Regions from separate parts of the Homo sapiens genome. Here region 2 is linked to region 1. Evidence: promoter capture Hi-C in 16 types of primary human blood cells and fetal thymus (Javierre and others, 2016). All regions are on one chromosome and are shown on one strand. Each heading gives the region's core, a stretch centred on a gene start or on the middle of the fragment in contact. The rest is flanking DNA. Distances are from core to core; before and after follow the strand shown. Region 1 holds the start of HIP1 (huntingtin interacting protein 1). Region 2 holds the start of LIMK1 (LIM domain kinase 1).

Region 1 (4,247 bases), core at 239-2,738:
GCTGGCCTCAGCCTCCCAAGTAGCTGGGATTACAAGCGTCTGCAACCACGCCCAGCTAATTTTTTGTATTTTTAGTAGAGACAGGGTTTCACCATGTTGGCCAGGCTGGTCTCAAACTCCTGACGTCAGGTGATCCACCCGCCTCGGCCTCCCAAAGTGCTGGGATTACAGGTGTGAGGTACCGCGCCCGGCCAAAAGCTCTATTCTTTGAAAGATTCCATATACAGAACCTTCAGTCAGATTCTCACTGTCTTTTCTAACTAAAATCCCAAAGCCCTTTCCCTCCAACTGTGTTTGGGGGAAGTATTCCTCGCATAACACATCAGGGGACCAGCCTCTGGAGAGGGGGACCCAAATGGATCTTCAAAGGTTCCACTCTGAGCACAAGAGTGTAGAAGAAATCTGCCCCTCCAGCATTGGCACTGGGATTAAAAGAAGCGTTGTACTCTTTGAAATGGATTTTACATACAAATGAATTGATGAACACCATCAACATGTCAGCTTAATTCAGCCCAATCAATACACCAGGCATTAAAAACTCGGAGAAAAAAATGGATTGTGGCTTTTTGTTGATGACACTGAGGAATTTTGGCCCCAAGCCCTGGCCAGGCAGGACAAATAGGGCAGTCTGCCTATTAGCTGTCAGGCACATCTTGGGGGATAAAACCAAGACCCCAAGTCAGGGCTCAGGGGCACCATGGTCTCCACTTTAGCCCCCAAAGTAATTTTCCCACAAAGTGGCCACACTTTGCATTTCCTACATTCCTTTTCCCTGCTCCGACCCCTTCCGCCCGGCCTCAGAGCTGACAGCTGGGGCTGGCCAGAGCCAAGCAAGAGGCATCGAGAAAGGGGGATGCTAAGGGGTGGGGGGTGGGAAGGGATGTCAATGCAACCAAGAAGTGATCGGAGGGGAAGAGAGGTCCCCTCACCCTTCACATTCCCAGCCCGGCGCCCCCACTCTCCGCCCCCACACTTGAGCCTCCAAGTGGCTCCCGTGCGCTTCCCTTGTTTAGGGGCAACCCTTCCATTCCGCCCCTTTTCAGTTCCTTCCCCTCTCACCTCATCTTGGGACTCCTGCCCGGTACCCAGCCGATCAGGCTCCTCTTGGCCACGCATCCTGCCATCTCCTCCGAGCCCGCCTCTGCCCTTCTCCCCAGGCCAGCTGGGGTACCCTGGGGTCCCCGACCTTCCTGGGATCGCCCAGATCTGCACGTCAATGCCCCCGCTCACTACACCCTCGCCCCGTCTTCAACTGGGGCCTGCAAGACTCCTACTCCCTTCAAAGCCCCTCCCGGACACCGCGTCCCTCAGGGTGCCCCAGGGATGCCCCGGGGTCCCCCGTCCTCACCTGAGTCCGCTCGAAGCTCTCGCGCTCCGCCGCCTCCAGCCCAGCGCCGACCCCGCGCCGGCTCAGCACCTTGGGCAGTGGGTTGGGCACCTGCTTCATGGAGCTGGCCATCCGATCCATGTCGCCGCGAGGAGCCGAGTCAGGGGCCCTCGGCTGCCCCGGGATCCCCACGGCGCCGCCCGCCCCGCCCTACCCGCGGGGATCCGGCGCTAACGGGACGGCTCCCGCCTGCCATTGGCTGTGAGTTCTGCCAGTCTTCCAGAGACCCCGCCCCTCGCCGAACGGCTTCCCCGCCCGCCCCCGCCCCTTCAGGAGCCCCTCCGCTGGCTCGGCCCCGACTAGCCTCTCGGGGCCTCGAGGCGCGTGGTGACTGGTCTGGAGTCCTGTCAGTCACCGTGGTCCCGCCGTTCTAGGCAGGGCCGGGGCGGGGTGCGGACGGGGCGAGGCCTGGATGGGGCGTGGCCTGGGCGGGCTGCCCTGATATGCCCTCGCTCGCCCCGCCCCCGCCCGCGCACCGCCCTCTCCTCCCCTCGGCCGCAGTCCCCGCGCGCCCCGAGCGTGCTGCCCTCCGCCAAGCGCCGCCCACTACCCTGCCCGCTCCTGCAGGGGGCTATCCCGCGACGGCCCGTGGAGATGGGCGGGGATGACGCGGGCCGGGCAGTGGGGCCTCCCCCGGGGGAATCCCAGCCCGCCTGCGAATAGCCCGTTAGCTCCTTCCGGGCCTGGGACCCGGGAGCGCCGGACTGACCAGCCCTGCGGCCGCAGCCCGGGAAAGCGCAGCCCCGCGGGCGGGGCGCAGCGTGGGCGCCTGGCCGGATCCGGCTCAATGGGTGGCCGCCCCCACCCAGCTCCCAGGCTTCCCCGTCCTGCACTTCTCCATTCTGCCCCTGCCCATGCCCTCTGCAAGGATCGCAGAGCCCAGGTCCCGGAGTTCGGGGCTGAGTCCGCGGGCACCTCCCGGGACCTGCCTCCCAAACCTCATCAAAGGAACCCGTCAGAGCTTATTTGTTGGTAGAAAGCCCTGTAGACACTTTCGGTTTATCTTAGGCTCTGAGCCGCGCGTCCCATCCTGCTCAGACGTCAGCCAGGGTACCAGCAAGCAGAGAGAAGTGTGATGCTTAGCAGGAGTGCTGGAGAAAGTTAAAAGTTTTCCGTTAAACTCCAATTTAGGTGTGTTTTTGTTTTTGTTTTTGTTTGTTTTTTTTTTTTTTTTTGGTTTCATTTGGAGTCAGTCTCCCTCTGTCGCCCAGGCTGGAGTGCAGATCGTAACACACTGGGACCTTGAGCTCCTGGGTCCTAGCGATTTTCCTGCCTCGGCCTCTCGAGTAGCTGGGACTACAGATGCACGCCACCAAGCCTGGCTATCTTTTTTGCAGAGATGGAGTCTTTCTATGTTGCCCAGACTGGTCTCGAACTCGTGGCCTCAAGCAAGCCTCCCACCTTGGCCTCCCAAAGTACTGTGATTACAGACATGAGCTACAGCACCCGGCATAGATGTATTTTTTAAAAGTTATTTGAAACTCGGAGTAATGAATGGCACCTTTAGGCCTAACAATTTGGTGATTCGTGTGTGTGTGTGTGTGTGTGTGTGTGTTGTAAATTTGGCCAGGTGCGGTGGCTTACACCTGTAATCTCAGCGCTTTGGGAGGCTGAGGCAGGCGGATCGTTTGAGCTCTGAACTTTGAAACCAGCCTGGGCAACATAGCAAGACTCCATCTGTACAAAAAATTTTAAAATTAGCTGGGCGTGGTGGTGCAAGCCTGTAGTCCCAGCTACTCACAAGGCGGGAGGATTACTTGAGCCAGGGAGGCAGAGGTTGCAGTGAGCAGAGATCGCGCCACTGCACTCCAGCCTGGGAGACAGAGCGAGACCCCGTCTCAAAAAAATATATACATATTTCTTTGTAGTGAGGGGTATGTTGCTGGATTGCCCAGGCTGGTCATGATCTCCTGGGCTCAAATGATCCTACCACCTCAGCCTCCCAAAGCACTGGGATTACAGGTGTGAGCCACCCTGCCCTGCCTGTTTTTTTTTTGTTTTTGTTTTTATTTTTTTTAATAAGAGCGTTTGGTAAAAATTCACACATTCAATAGAGAAGTGAAAGAGGGGTGGGCATTTGCGGTTACTAAGGAGCCACTGAAGACTTTTGCTCAGATGTGTGCACTGAGGAGCTTGTATTGTGGGGATGGATTATGGGGGCCTGATGGAAGGGAGGAAATCAGTGGGGAGACTCTAGCGTAGATGAGAGATGATGAGGGCCTAGAAGAGAAGGGAGAGGAGGAAGTTCTGTCCCGTGGGAGGTTACGCAAATAAGGCTTGGACACAGGGATTGGGGGATGGGCAATGGCGGTGCCATTCAGGCTACATTTGCATAGGAAGGACTGGACTGGTTTCACCTTTACTTAAATTGTGTTTCTGTGGGAGGCTTTGGGAGTGCCCCCTCCCTTGTGTTGCTTTGGGAGAGATTAGATGTCACCTGATTTTTCATGTCTAGGGAGAGGGAGATGACAACTGAGCGTGGGAGCACGGTAGGGGCGCTGACAGAGGAAGAGGAAATTACCTTGGCCGGGCACCGTGGCTCACACCTGTAATCCCAGCACTTTGGGAGGTCGAGGCGGGCAGATCACTTGAGGCCAGGAGTTCAAAATCAGCCTGGCCAACATGGTGAAATTCTGTCTCTACTAAAAAATACAAAAAAGTAGCCAGGTGTGGTGGCATGTGCCTGTAATCCCAGCTACTCGAGAAGCTGAGGCTGGAGAATCACTTGAGCCTGGGAGGCGAAGGCTGCAGTGAGCTGAGATCGCACCAGTGAACTCCAGCCTGCATGACAGAGTGAAACTCTATCTCCAAAAAGCAAAAAACAAAAAACAAACAAACAAAAATCTCAATTTTTAAAAAA
Region 2 (4,132 bases), core at 475-2,974, 1.7 Mb before region 1:
TCCCAGCACTTTGGGAGGCCAAGGTGGGTGGATCACCTGAGGTCCAGAATTCGAGACCAGCCTGACCAACATGGAGAAACCCCGTCTCTATTAAAAATACAAAATTAGCCAGGTATGGTGGTGCATGCCTATAATCCCAGCTATTCCAGAGGCTGAGGCAGGAGAATGGCTTGAACCCGGGAGGTGGAGGTTGCTGTGAGCTGAGATCGCACCATTGCACTCCAGCCTGGGCAACAAGAGTGAAACTCCATTTCAAAAAAAAAAAAAGTTAGAAGAGACAGGGTTTCACTTCATTGCTTAAGCTGATCTCCAATTCCTGGCCCCACGTGATGCTCCCACCTTGGCCTCCCAAAGTGCTGGGATTATAGGTGTGAGCCACTGTGCCCAGCCTTCTTTCTCATGAGAAATTAAAAATTCTGGCCAGGCGTGGTGGCTCACACCTGTAATCCCAGCACTTTGGGAAGCCGAGGAGGGTGGATCACCTGAGGTCAGGAGTTCAGGACCAGCCTGGTCAACATGGTGAAACCTCATCTCTACTAAAAATACAAAAATTAGTCGGTCATGGTGGTGCACGCCTGTAATATCAGCTACTCGGGAGGCTAAGGTGGGAGAATTGCTTGAACCTGGGAGGTGGAGACTGCGGTGAGCCGAGATCCCGCCACTGCACTCCAGCCTAGGCAACAGAGCGAGACCGAATCTAAAAAAAGAAAAAAAAAATCTAGTATTTTCTTCCCACCCCACGTAATTGTTTTGCACCCAGGGGTGAGTGCCCCCCACTTTGCAGACGTGCCTAGACCTCTCCCCACAAACATGATGACTAGAGTTGGAGCTGGGCTAGCGCTGCCTCTTGTTCACTGGGTTCACGTGGGCACGTGGCTCCACTCCGGTCACTGCTTCCTGGGCAGAGGGATGACGTGGAAGGTAGACCTAGGGGGGACAGGGTTGCTTCCTGCCCATGTCCAGCATTCTAGAATTGTCCACATCTAGGCAGGGCGTTCCACCATCAGTGCTGGACTGGACCACCCAATTCCTTTGGACGCTTGACTCAGCCCAAACCCGTGCTCCCTCCAGGACCCTGGGCAGGGCAGCCCCAGCTCCAGGTAATCGGCACTGAGAAGAGTACACCTGTCACCGCCTGGCAGGGGCTCGCTCCTTTCTCTGGTGCTGCTCATTCGCGAGGCCTGAGACGCGGACCGTCACCTTCCCCGGGCCCAGCCTGGCCTCAATGCAGGCCTCAGAGAGAGGGACAAAACCCGGCCCGCCTCCCTCCCCTCCCCAAGGCGACCACCAGTGTCCTGGGGGTCCACAGGGCCTCTCCAGCTCTGATCCGAGTTCCCGGCTGCAGCTGGTTTGGGTCTGTGGGGGCCTCGCGCAGGGAAGCGGAGGCCCCTTCTCTAGGCTCCTACATCCTCCTGGCCTGCCCCAGCAGAGCTAGCGGCCCTCCGAGACAGCTGGGCCTCGCAGCTCCCAGCCGAGGCCTGTCGCTGGGAGAAAGAAGAATGAATGAAGGGCGGAAGGGGCGGGGAGGGGCGGGGCGCGCCGCGCCAGCTCGCGGCGCCCCCAGGCCGGGCCGCAGCGGGGCGTGGCCTCTAGAGGCGTGGCCTTGGGCGTGGGGGCGGGGTTTTCTGGTGGGGGCGGGGCCGCGCAGGGCCGTTCCCGCCGCCGGCCGCCCGCGCCCCGCCCCCGTGCCGCAGCTCACAGGCCCCGCCTCGGTCCGCCCCTCCGCTCGCTCCCCAAGCCGCCGCGGCGCCGAGCCGGTTTCCCCGCCGGTGTCCGAGAGGCGCCCCCGGCCCGGCCCGGCCCGGCCCGCGCCCTCCGCCCCCGCCTCCCCGGGCCGGCGGCGGTGGGCGAGCTCGCGGGCCCGGCCGCCCCCAGCCCCAGCCCCGCCGGGCCCCGCCCCCCGTCGAGTGCATGAGGTTGACGCTACTTTGTTGCACCTGGAGGGAAGAACGTATGGGAGAGGAAGGTGCGCGGGCCGCGGGGTGTGGGGCGAGGGCCTGGAGGGGGTGCCCGGGGCAGCGTGGGGCACGGGAGGGGGCCGGGTCTGCCAGGAGGCCGCGCCCCTGCCTCCTCCGGGATGAGCTCGTCCTTACGAAGCCCGCAGGCCCCTCCCTGTCCCCCTCCCGCCCGGGATCCCCCTCCCCGGCCCCCGGCGAGCTGCCCTCCTGCGGGTCTGGGGGCCCCTGGACCCTTTTTCCTCCTCCCACGTCCCCCCGCGAAGGACTCCCAGACACTGCCCACCCCGCGTCGGCCTCCATCCGCGTGCTCTGTCCACCACCCGGGCCTCGCCCTGGGGCCACCCTTTATCCAGTCTCGGAAGAAAGAGCGGCTGGGGAAGCCGCAGCCCCGGGTCCCAGTGGCCGCCGGGCGCCTGCCCGGCTCTGTGACCTTGAGCCAGGCGCTGACTTCCTGGTCCTCAGTTTCCCCTTCTGTACATTTGGAAACTGGGTAGTTGCCCCCCCGGTGTCGGTGATTGGGGGCCAGATGGGTAGAGCGGAGATAGGCGTCCAGGAAGCCGGAGGCCGTGTACTGCGGGAGCCTCATCCACTCTCCCTGTCCGTGCCCCAAACCCGGTGCCTGCCCTCAGTCTTGGCTGGGAGCATGACTCATCCTAACCTCCTCTTTAGCCCCTTCTCCCTCACTGGGGCCCAAGGCGCAGTACTGCACTGCAGTTAGGGTTCAAGGACTCCCCCAGCCTAGGACAGGGTCTGGGGGCCCCTCCTTGGATCTCCTTCGCTGACCTGTCACTTAGATCCACCTGGCCCCAAGGCAGGGCCTGACTCCACACCTCCCCCTGCCACCAACTCTTCCCAGGCCCATGAAAACCTGATTGGGGTAGGGGCCCACCTTCCTGTAGCCCCTGCCTACCTAAGGTACCTGCGTCTTCACAGAGGGTCAGGCTGTTGTGGCCTTGGGACCTAGCTATGTGACTGGGCAAGCCATGCCATCTCTGGGGCTCAGTCTCCCCTTCTGTACAGTGGAGAGGGGCAGGTCTGGGGCATTTTCCAGGGCCCACCAGCTCCAAGGGTGCCAGGCCCCAAGGATGACTAAGCATGCCTGTGGCTGGCTAGAGGAGGTGCCAGGCCTCCCTGGGACAGGTGTCTGGGAGTACCCAGGTCTGCAGCCCCCTCCCCTTGCCAAGCCAGGGCATTCATTGCCAAGGATCTGTTAGGGCCGGCACCTCCAGGCTTCCTGCCCTTGACCTCCCAGCTGGCTTCAGCCCAGGATGCACTAATCCAGCCCTGTCCAGTCCCTGCCTTTGAAGGGCCCTCTTAGTACTTCTTCCTGGGCAGGAGAGGGAAGAAAGGAGGCTGTGATAGGAATGTCACCCACTGCCTTATCCCTAAAGCCACTGCTTCCTTTCTCCTCATTTACCTTGCCAGATCCAATGCTATAGCGGGAGGATGGACCTGATCCTCCTCCTAAGCTGATACATAGGGAAACAGGGCCAGAGAAGCTTGGCAACCTAGTCAGTATCTCAGCAAGACTCAGGCCAGCGCCCTTTCTTCTCCTATTTGGCACAGCGACTGCCCTGCCTGGGCGCTGCACATGTGCAGTGTGCGAGGATTGGTGCAGGTGTAGGTATATGTGGGGTGGGCAGGGCAAGCTGGGCCTGCACCAGATCACACTTCCTGAGAATGCTTCCCAACTCCCTTCCCACCCTGCAGGAAGCGAGTTGCCCGTGTGTGCAAGCTGCGGCCAGAGGATCTATGATGGCCAGTACCTCCAGGCCCTGAACGCGGACTGGCACGCAGACTGCTTCAGGTAGGGTGGGGTGCCCAGGGCCTGTGTTGCCCTAAACAAGGCCTGCCAGAGAGGACAGGCTGGTCAAGGAATGGGGGAGGCCGGGATATGCCTCCTGGTGCCGTCCCCTATTGTGACTTCGTGGCCTTAATTTACCATTTATGACATGAGGTGTTTTGACTAGAAAATCCCTACAGGCCTTCCTGTTGTCATTTTATTTATCTATTTTTTTTTCTTTTTGAGACGGAGTCTCGCTCTGTCACCCAGGCTGGAGTACAGTGGTGCGATCTTGGCTCATTGCAACCTCTTCCTCCTGGGCTCACGCAGTTCTCCTGTGTCAGCCTCTGGAGTAGCTGGGATTACAGGCGTGCACCACCACGCCCAGCTA

The links. Contacts are between HindIII fragments. The CHiCAGO score rates a contact against its expected background, and 5 or more counts as called.
Region 2: the fragment with the promoter of LIMK1 here is called in contact with the fragment with the promoter of HIP1 in region 1 in 1 of 17 cell types (neutrophils); the score reaches 9.1 in neutrophils.

What each region holds. Positions count from the first base shown.
Region 1 is chr7:75,737,453-75,741,699 of GRCh38, forward strand. It overlaps HIP1 (huntingtin interacting protein 1), which reads right to left and starts at 1,489. Exons shown (of 31, transcript NM_005338.7): 1 at 1,349-1,489. The coding sequence starts at 1,468. RefSeq lists a silencer at 1,277-2,266. The HindIII fragment of the contact is 9,380 bases long and covers 1-4,247 here.
Region 2 is chr7:74,082,080-74,086,211 of GRCh38, forward strand. LIMK1 (LIM domain kinase 1) reads left to right here and starts at 1,725. Exons shown (of 16, transcript NM_002314.4): 1 at 1,725-1,966; 2 at 3,669-3,765. The coding sequence starts at 1,912. RefSeq lists enhancers at 425-1,103, 1,099-1,208, 1,104-1,782, 2,269-2,538, 3,050-3,649 and 1 more and silencers at 1,479-1,748, 1,869-1,918, 2,029-2,078. The HindIII fragment of the contact is 9,779 bases long and covers 1-3,455 here.